2 separate regions of the Homo sapiens genome follow, and region 2 is linked to region 1. Evidence: promoter capture Hi-C in human tissues and cell types (Jung and others, 2019). All regions are on one chromosome and are shown on one strand. Each heading gives the region's core, a stretch centred on a gene start or on the middle of the fragment in contact. The rest is flanking DNA. Distances are from core to core; before and after follow the strand shown. Region 1 holds the start of CYP39A1 (cytochrome P450 family 39 subfamily A member 1). Region 2 overlaps ENPP4 (ectonucleotide pyrophosphatase/phosphodiesterase 4).

Region 1 (4,535 bases), core at 1,885-4,384:
ACCATTCCCCTATAGGGGGCAGATTCTCTTGCACCGTCTCCCAACCGAGCAAGAGCTGCTTCTCCTTGCATTTGGAGTCGAGTTTTTGTGAGATCCAGGGGAAAGGTTGCTAACAAAAACACAAATGCAGGGAAAAACCCACAACATTCAGAGAAACAAACAAAAATCTAAAATCATAGGAGTAATATTTTCCCAAGACTGGTTGTTCTCAAATTTTAGAATATATCAGAATCAGCTAGGGAGATTTTAAAAATTAGAAATTTCCTAGCCCCGTGCCCATGGATTCTAATTCAGTAGGTTGAAGAGGGTTTAGAAACTTGATTCTCACACAGTCCCAAATTTAAGAATCACTACGCAAGAGCATCCTGGATCACTAGCAAAAAAAAAAAAAAAAAAAAAAAAAAAAAAAAAAAAAACAAACATTAACAATAAAAATTAAAATGACAAGCCTTGGGTTCTTTCTATTCAGAAATTTAACTTTAATATCTGTTAGTCATTAATTTTTGCTTTTCAATGGGAAATAATTTAAAGTACCATATTGTGTGCTATCCTCTTGACTGCAGCCATGATTATTTGAGATCTAATGTAACATTAGAATACTGCACTATATATTCTTATGTACTATAACAAATGCTAGATGAAGCTGAACTCTATAATTTCGTGGGTGATGTTCACATGCAGATGAATGACTGACATAATGTTTGAGATACAGAAGATGTAATGGAGTTTATAATGTTGTCTTTTATATGCAAGGGTCATAAGCTCAATATCCTTTCAATTAAAGCATATATGGAATTATTTTTCCAGCACTAAATTATATGCATCGCCTACTCATGGCCTCCTTACAAGTACTAACTGTATTTTGGAAAAATTTTTTGGTTTTAAGTTTTAAATTAGATACAGACCTTTTACCTTAATACAGTTAAGCTAAACGGCCTACATAAGGAAGATAGAGCTCATAACCTTATACAGAAAACGTCCTGAATAATTAAAATAATAACATTCAGACAAGTTCATGAACATTACTTACATTATATAAGACTTTTCAATGACCACCACCTGACACAAAACCTTAGTATACCTTTTCCAAGAGAAAACAATGTGGGGAAGGGAAGTGAATATTAAATCTTACCACTGGTTTTTGGAAAAGTTAGTATCTTGCTGACAGTTTCCCTAGAACAGAAGTAGCTTGCATAGACTTCAAGCAATATTTTATTGACATATGAAACCTGAAAAATCTTAATAGATTTCTCCATATTACACAGATTATGTCTTTCAAAATAAGTTTTGTTTTCTCGCTGGTTTGTTAAATGATGCTTCAGGTTCCTGAAGTGGTTTGTACTTAAAACCATCCCACATTTTGATTCCCATCCATTCTCCACACACAATTCTCTCCATGAATTTTTAACGAGGAATAGTCCTGTATAAAAGCCATTGAGTCAGAGGGGGACACATCAATTAAAAATAAAACCTGGAAATATCATTCAGCAATCTGCTTTTAGATCTTTTTAAGCTGATGAATTTTATTTCAGTAAAAACAATGAAAAGTAAAAATTCTCCATCATTTTCGAAAGGAGAGACATTAAAAAATAGAGGGGCTAAAAGGCAAAAATGGAAGAGCACGAAACAACTGATCATGGCTGGCTATGCTAGAATTAAAAAATAAACTCTTAAAATAGGACCAACTAACATTTACAAATGATAACGCATCAGAACTGTTCTTTTTATTTTTTTGTAACAGGCAAGAAAATGTAAGGGTAATCTTAAAATACACAGTTAAGGCTTCACAGGAAACACATGAGTATACTACTCACAAAATCCTTGGAATAAACGCTACTTGCTCATTCAAGGGCATCATCATTCCACTCTAGATGGCCTCTTAAAGTTTTTTCTTACTCATGTAGGCAGATGTAACTGCTCTTCTATGCTTTTATGACACCTAATAATATCTTCATTATAACAAGTAGCACATTATAATTGTCTTTCTCTGTCTCCCCAGCAGCCTGTAAGAAGGTCAGAACTGGGTCTTTTCAAATATATATCCACAGTCCCTGGTATTGTAGGAATTATAAAAATGTCGCAACTAATGGGTGTCCTGCCTTGGGTTTAGCAATCATATATTATTGACTTCTCAGAATCCTGCAAGGTAAACAGTATAGATGAATTACACTCAAAGAGGTCAAGTAGTCGATGCTCTGTGAGTGGCAGGTTAATAACGGAAGTCCCACAAGGTAGGTCCACAACTTGGACCCACAAGATAATGACAGTGTGGCTGTGTAAGACTATAAACCACAGAGATGATCTCAGTAAGGATGGAAAACAGATTACGTTTTTAAAAAGGTCATCCTCATGAAAAGGAAAATGATTCCTACAGAGGAATGACAGCTCGCGAAGCTTCTTAAAGTACAACATTCAAGCACCACAGCACATGCCTAAGGGAAGCATTAGAAGAGATTAGAAGGAAAAGGCCGTGGAGACCTCAATCCCTCCTCCTCCCACCGCGGGCCTGGCCTCCACCGCCACCTCTGCCAGGCGGGCATGGAAGGGGCGACCTCTCCGATGCGCACTGCCGGGCGCGAAGCCGCCCGCGCACCCTCCCCCAGCGCGGCGCGTGCCACTGGCCCGGGAGGCCCAGGCGTGGGCAGCCGGGTACCTAGCTCGGCCACGGTAGCCGCGCAGCCGGACAGTAGGAATTTGCTCGCTCGGGGCCATCTCTGGGTCAGCGGCAAAAGCCTCTCCTCCTCCTCCGGGACGGACATTCAGCAGTAGCGCAAGACGATAACGCACTCCTTCTCGCCGCTGCGCTGCACCGCGCCGCGGCGGCCGCTTCCCTGCCAGGGCGGCCCCTTTTCAACCGGCGAGTGGCCGGGTGAGGACCATTTCCCTCGTTCGGCTCGGCCGGGTGGACCCGCAACCTTCCTAGCAGTCCCAGCTGGAGTGGTCCAGCTGCCCCTTACACCCCAGAATAGAAAAACACAGCGGAGCCCAGGAGGTTACTGGGCAATGTAGTCCGCCGGGCTCCGCTACGTCTCTGATTGGCCGGCCGCGGGTCCCTCTGCGGCTCCGCCCCCGGCCTCCATGGCAACGCGGCTGGTTCTCGCCCGTCAGTCCTAGCCCGGCCCTGCCCCTCCTTGCATTTTTTCCGCGCTGGCTGAGATTCAAAGAGAAGTGGAGGTGGGAGGGAGCGACAATGGAAAAATCACCTGAAAACTGGGACAGAGGAAGGAAGCTACAGTTACGAAGGAGAGCTGCAAAAGTTGCAGCAGAAAGGTTGGGAGTCCCGACAGGTTCCGTAGCCCACAGAAAAGAAGCAAGGGACGGCAGGACTGTTTCACACTTTTCTGCTTCTGGAAGGTGCTGGACAAAAACATGGAACTAATTTCCCCAACAGTGATTATAATCCTGGGTTGCCTTGCTCTGTTCTTACTCCTTCAGCGGAAGAATTTGCGTAGACCCCCGTGCATCAAGGGCTGGATTCCTTGGATTGGAGTTGGATTTGAGTTTGGGAAAGCCCCTCTAGAATTTATAGAGAAAGCAAGAATCAAGGTATGTGGTCGTGGCAGACGGGGTCTCCAGAGGAGACAATGCTTTCTTTTTTAAACTTTCTTTCATTGACTCTTAAGTGCAGGGCTAGAACACGGGGAACATACCTGCTTGCCTCAACTAAAGGATCTAGTCATTTCTGAATTCCTCTACTAACAATTAACAACAATATCCTGTGCAAAATTTTGCGAAAGAAATGAAATACAATTGCAGCGTGCATCGACATTTTTGGAAGTAGAGATTAACTTTTCGTATTTTTACTTCATCGAAGTTAAGTTCCAAATGTGTATGTGTTAAGTAAATGTTTTCAGTAATTGGGAAAGATAAAGTGTAATCCAATTTAAGTTTGTGAAAATGAGTAATTCGTATCCAAATTGGAGTTAACACCAAAGTATTGTACAAATTGCTTGCACAGTTGGTCCGTACACAATAAACAGGCTCTGTATTTTTAGCTGACGTTGTTATTTGATGATGATGTACTCCATTTTCACTACGGCCTGAAGAGACTAGTAATCCTCCTTGTAGTAGATGTTTTTGTCTTGAAAGTATCTTTTAAATGTCTGAGCACTTTAAGGAACAGACCTTTATTAATGTCTTTTAAGTTTTATTCAATTTCCAGTCACAAATATTTTATGGTATTTGATTGTCTAATAAATTTGTATGATATTATAATTATTCTTATGAATTATAATACTTTCTGTGGTGACCCATTTTCCATCTGGTTAGCCCAATTTGTAGAATGAATTTATACGTAGTAGCATTATTTTACCACTGATCATTTGCCTTCAAAATCTCTGAGATTCCAATTTAGTAAAAAACATATAGAAAATTAAAGAGAACTAAGATGAAAATAAAAATAACCCAGAATATCACACCAGCTGTACTGTAAAAATTTAGTGTATTTATATTATTTTGGTCATTTTCCTATGTATTTACAACTATTTAATGAACAACAATGGAATAATAGTATAATACTCTTTTATGTGCTTTTG
Region 2 (4,475 bases), core at 121-2,620, 510 kb after region 1:
TTCAATTTCTTTACAGGTTGTCTATGGCTACTTTTACACAATAAAGGCAGAGTAGAGTAGCTGAGACAGAGACCAGCTGGCCCACAAAGCCTAAACTATTTTCTATTTGGCCCTTTACTAAAAAAGTTTGCTGACCCCTACCATAGACCACAAAATTAGATTTTAAAAAAAGCATTTGAATTGAATATGAAATATGGATAAATAAGCTTCAGTTTGAGGCAAGCCTGTAACTCACCCCTATACATTTTCTCCCCTATATATTTTTTAGGAGAGATTTTGATGTATCTATTTTGTTCACTTGGTGGATTTGTTTGGTTACTTTCTGGTTCTTGCCCAGTGTTCTAAATAGCTGTAGCATTCAGGTAAATGATTTTGTTACTGGGGAAGACTTAGGGTTACTCAGACAAATTTTTTTTAACACACAAAAGAACAAGGATTAGCTAATCTCTCCCCTTTTACTGTTTCTTTACTTCTCTATTTTGTATAAATCAAGAGAATGAATCTTGAAAATTACTGACAGTAATTGCAGTTTTGGAAAGAAAGTAGGACTTTGCCTTCACTCTTAAATTTACTTTCTAATTTAAAGGTGAAATTGTGATTACTGTAAATTGCTATTAAATGAAGACCTGGGAATTATCTGGTTGAAAATTGAACTAATTATTCTGTGTGAACTTCTTTAAATCGAAGTACCCTCTTAACACAACAGTATCACAAGGTATGATTTGTTCCTAGGATACAACAGAAATATCTCAACTAAATACTTACATTTTTGTGATGATTCATTTAGCACAATTGTCCAGCCTTCATCGGCAACCAAAATAATGGGCTGAATTCGATCATTATGTTGGTAATAAAATCTGTTAGGAATGTCTTCTTTGAGATAAACATTCATATGAGGGCTACAGTTTTTCAGTTTGTTATAAACCTCTGTTCTATCTGAGAAAAAAAAAGAAACAGCAAAGGAAACAAGTTATGATTGATAAGGAAAAAATATGTCTAACTAGAATAATTGGAAGTAAATTATAGATAATGTCATCTATTAAATCACTTCTTAAAAAAACAGAGCAATAATAATGTGAGAGTGTTGGGGACTGATACACACAAACACACACCTTTCTCAAACATTAACAAATCTGTTTCACTTTGTGGATTACCATGGTGGACTTTTACAGATAGGGGACATTTTTCAGGTGTATCTTCCTAAGTAAACATAAACTAATTACATGTTACTACTAACTACTACTTCTATGATCAGTAGAAGAAAGTACCTCACCACTAAATATCACACACTAAAATCTAAGATGTTTAAGGATAAAAATTTCCTTTTTCTAGTGCAAATAATTAGATATATCAAAAGCAAAGAAATACTCACTTTGAAACTAAACCATAAGCCATATAACTAAACCATAGGCCAACTGCTCTCAACTTGTAAACAAGAGGAAAAAAACATATAATCCCACTCTGAGTATATGGTTCTAAACTACAAAAAGCTAGAGCTTCATTCTTTTATACAACCCACCCCCCTCAATCAATTGCCCCATTCGAATAATAGTATCCCTCAGTTGAATGTTTACTTACTTATTTTGGGAAGTATTGCAGCAACTGGGCTCAAATCTATAAGAGTGTAGTATGAATGATCGATGCAGGAATCCAGGTTTATCAGTCTGTCCTGAGAACACTGGGTCATCCCATGATCACTTGTAATGATCACATTAAGATTTTCCCATAGCCCTAACATCTTGAGTCTTTGGACTAAGTCACCGATAAGATCATCTATTTTTTTCAACACTCTGCTCATGTTTTCTTTATCTTCAGGTCCGTATTTGTGGCCACTTGCATCTGGTTCTTCCCAATATAGTGTTGCAAAGGTGACTGGTGGGTTCGAATTGTTTAGCCACATAGTAATATTATTTAGTCTTTCCTCAAATGACACTGAGGAGTTGTAATTCATAAAATAGGAAGAGATGGTATCGTGAATGGGTACATCAGTACCAGGCCACATAGCAGCAGCACTTGATCTGTTTTCCTGAAGCTGATTGGTCACCCAAATAGGTACTGCCTCATTCCACCAAAAAGGATCCTTGTCATTAGAGTCAGAAAAGTGTTTCTTTGTGACTGCATCATACATGGAATTAGCCACAATGCCATGGCTTTCTTCATACAAGCCTGTCACAATACTGTAGTGGTTTGGAAATGTTTTTGTGATAAAAACATTTTTAACATGCTCTACCAAAACACCTTCTTTGATAAAATTCTGGAGATGAGGAAATTCATAGTTCTTCAGATAATCAGCTCTGAAGCCATCAAAGGATACTAGTAGTAACTTAGGTGGCAAACTAGAGGAAGAGTCACTTCTAAAACCAGTTATAAGTCCAGAAAACAAAAGTATTACTAATAACTTCATAATGAACACGTTGAAGGACAGCAATCAGGGTTCCTAAAATGTAAAAACACAACTCATAAGTAGTAATTCTATTTCATTTGGGTTAAGTTTTAGAATTTTAGCCCACAGGAGGAGAGAACCAACATTTATATGCCAGCTTTACCTATATTAACTTAAATAATACCATTTATTTAAAAATAACTAAAAGCTAAAATTGGAAAAAAAATTGTCTTGTCCAATTTCCTATTTATATATATGCCCTACTCTATCCTTCATATGGGCCATTTTTATACTCCACATCAATACTCCTTCTAGGCTGTCAGCTCATTTGCCACATTAGAAATTCTTCGAAAGGCTTAATAAAAATAGATGCAGACACTAAAATGATTCTTTTGTAAAACATAACGTTAATGCCAAGCTTTCAGAGGCTCCAGAGATGATGATTATTTTTCCAGTTTAATAAATTGTACTTTATAGTTTCTTTAACCCACAGAAATAATTGGTGGAAATTCTACCATATTGGTTTATTGCCAGTTCTTGTTGAAAATATTGCTATAAAAAAGGGGGAATAAGAAATAAATGCTATTGAGAAAAAAGCCCCCATCAGTCTGTATGTGCCCCAATAGTCACATGAAGTTGATTAACAAACATGCAAAGCCTACATGGACATGGATGCTCCAGTAACTTATGAAGAAATCCAATAGCTATTGAAATGAGTTTTATTACCACATCCCTCTTAAACTTCCTTTTAGCTATCAACAACTATTTTCACTAATACCCTAGGCTTAAAGCTATCTCTGATTTTTTGTTCTTTCTTTAAATCAATTCACTGATGACAAAAACAGCTTTTCCCTAATAAATCTCCCTGCCTTTGCTCTCTATCTTCTTTGGTCTCTAAGAAAATAGGACATGTGAGTGAGGTAAAATGATTCACTTCAGATGGACAGGATGCCTCTTCCATTGTAACAGGAGAGAAGGAGCAAAGGTAGGGGAGCTGACAGATTTGAGGGCTGGAGGTGAAGAGAGTTGCCGGAGGTAGGGTCAATTATTGACAGGGAGTAGAATGGTAAAAGGTTCAGAGGTTTGAGGAACAGAAAGAATGTCTGAAATAGTTAATGTGGAAGATGGGAGAAAGTGTGAGTAAACAGTAGAACTGGAGTCAATGTTGACAGCTGTCATGAATTTTCATAGTGACACAGTTGACTGGTTTTCTCTAGCAACTCAGTAAACCTGGCACAGGCATGAACAAAACAGGCAGCTGATCCTACCTGGATTTGAGATTCTGCCAGAAACTGAAGGAAGACAAAGGAAGCTGAAGATGCTAACTAAAGAGCAGCTGAAATTGGGGCTGCAGCATCTAAGCTGAAACTGACAGATGTAAGTAAGAAGTAGAGAAGTTTTTCAACTAGAGGTTCTGGTGAAGTCAAAGAACTAATGAAGATTAGTTAAGAGTAACTTTTAGTGAAAGTTACAAAGATCTGGGATTGCAGTTAGAATGCAACAAGTGAATGCATTATTTCAGACTAAGAAGACCCTGAACATGGTAACGGGTATGCATGTTGAGGTCCCAGGTATGAAGAGCAGCAAGTTAACTAATATGATTATGAAGTTCAGGAGTCATTTATTGTGTATTCTCTCAAGTAGACTGGAAACACTTTCTCTCTTTCTTTCAAACATGCCACCTGGAGGATCTGCGTACTTGTGGTCAAATACTGACAGAGGCTGTGATCCTCTGAAAAACTGACTTAAAATTAGGAAGACCAAAGGCACAGAATCTGATTTATGAGGATCTTGGGGTCTACAAAATCTCTACTATTTTAATCGGAGACAGGTTGCCTTCTGAATGTGGTGCATGGAACATTTGTTCCTGGTGCTCCCTAATAACCAAAACTAATGCAGAGTAACAAAACCACCTCTCCAAAAGACAGAGTAACAAACCTAATGAGTGGTAGAGGAGGCATATGGGTATTTCCACAGACACAGCCCTAGTCATAGCACAGCAATTTCAGCTATCAAGAATCTAGACAATGGTACTTACCCGTTCATTCAATATTTTATGCCCTCAACACAGTGTTTATGTATGACTTAACTC

What was found. Contacts are between HindIII fragments. The study calls those that stand out against the background at their distance.
Region 2: a contact is called between a fragment that was not itself captured here and the fragment with the promoter of CYP39A1 in region 1, in 1 of the 25 tissues and cell types used here (heart right ventricle).

The regions. Positions count from the first base shown.
Region 1 is chr6:46,651,417-46,655,951 of GRCh38, reverse strand. CYP39A1 (cytochrome P450 family 39 subfamily A member 1) reads left to right here and starts at 3,134. Exons shown (of 12, transcript NM_016593.5): 1 at 3,134-3,546. The coding sequence starts at 3,370. It overlaps SLC25A27 (solute carrier family 25 member 27), which reads right to left and starts at 2,977. Exons shown (of 9, transcript NM_004277.5): 1 at 2,654-2,977; 2 at 1-109. The coding sequence starts at 2,759. RefSeq lists silencers at 2,540-2,639, 3,070-3,159 and enhancers at 2,820-2,949, 3,180-3,229. The HindIII fragment of the contact is 4,112 bases long and covers 1,177-4,535 here.
Region 2 is chr6:46,137,513-46,141,987 of GRCh38, reverse strand. It overlaps ENPP4 (ectonucleotide pyrophosphatase/phosphodiesterase 4), which reads right to left. Exons shown (of 4, transcript NM_014936.5): 2 at 1,579-2,437; 3 at 766-936. The coding sequence starts at 2,404. Among named protein-coding and RNA genes, the nearest start is that of ENPP4, 9.8 kb to the right of the region's middle. RefSeq lists an enhancer at 4,427-4,475. The HindIII fragment of the contact is 4,639 bases long and covers 1-3,689 here.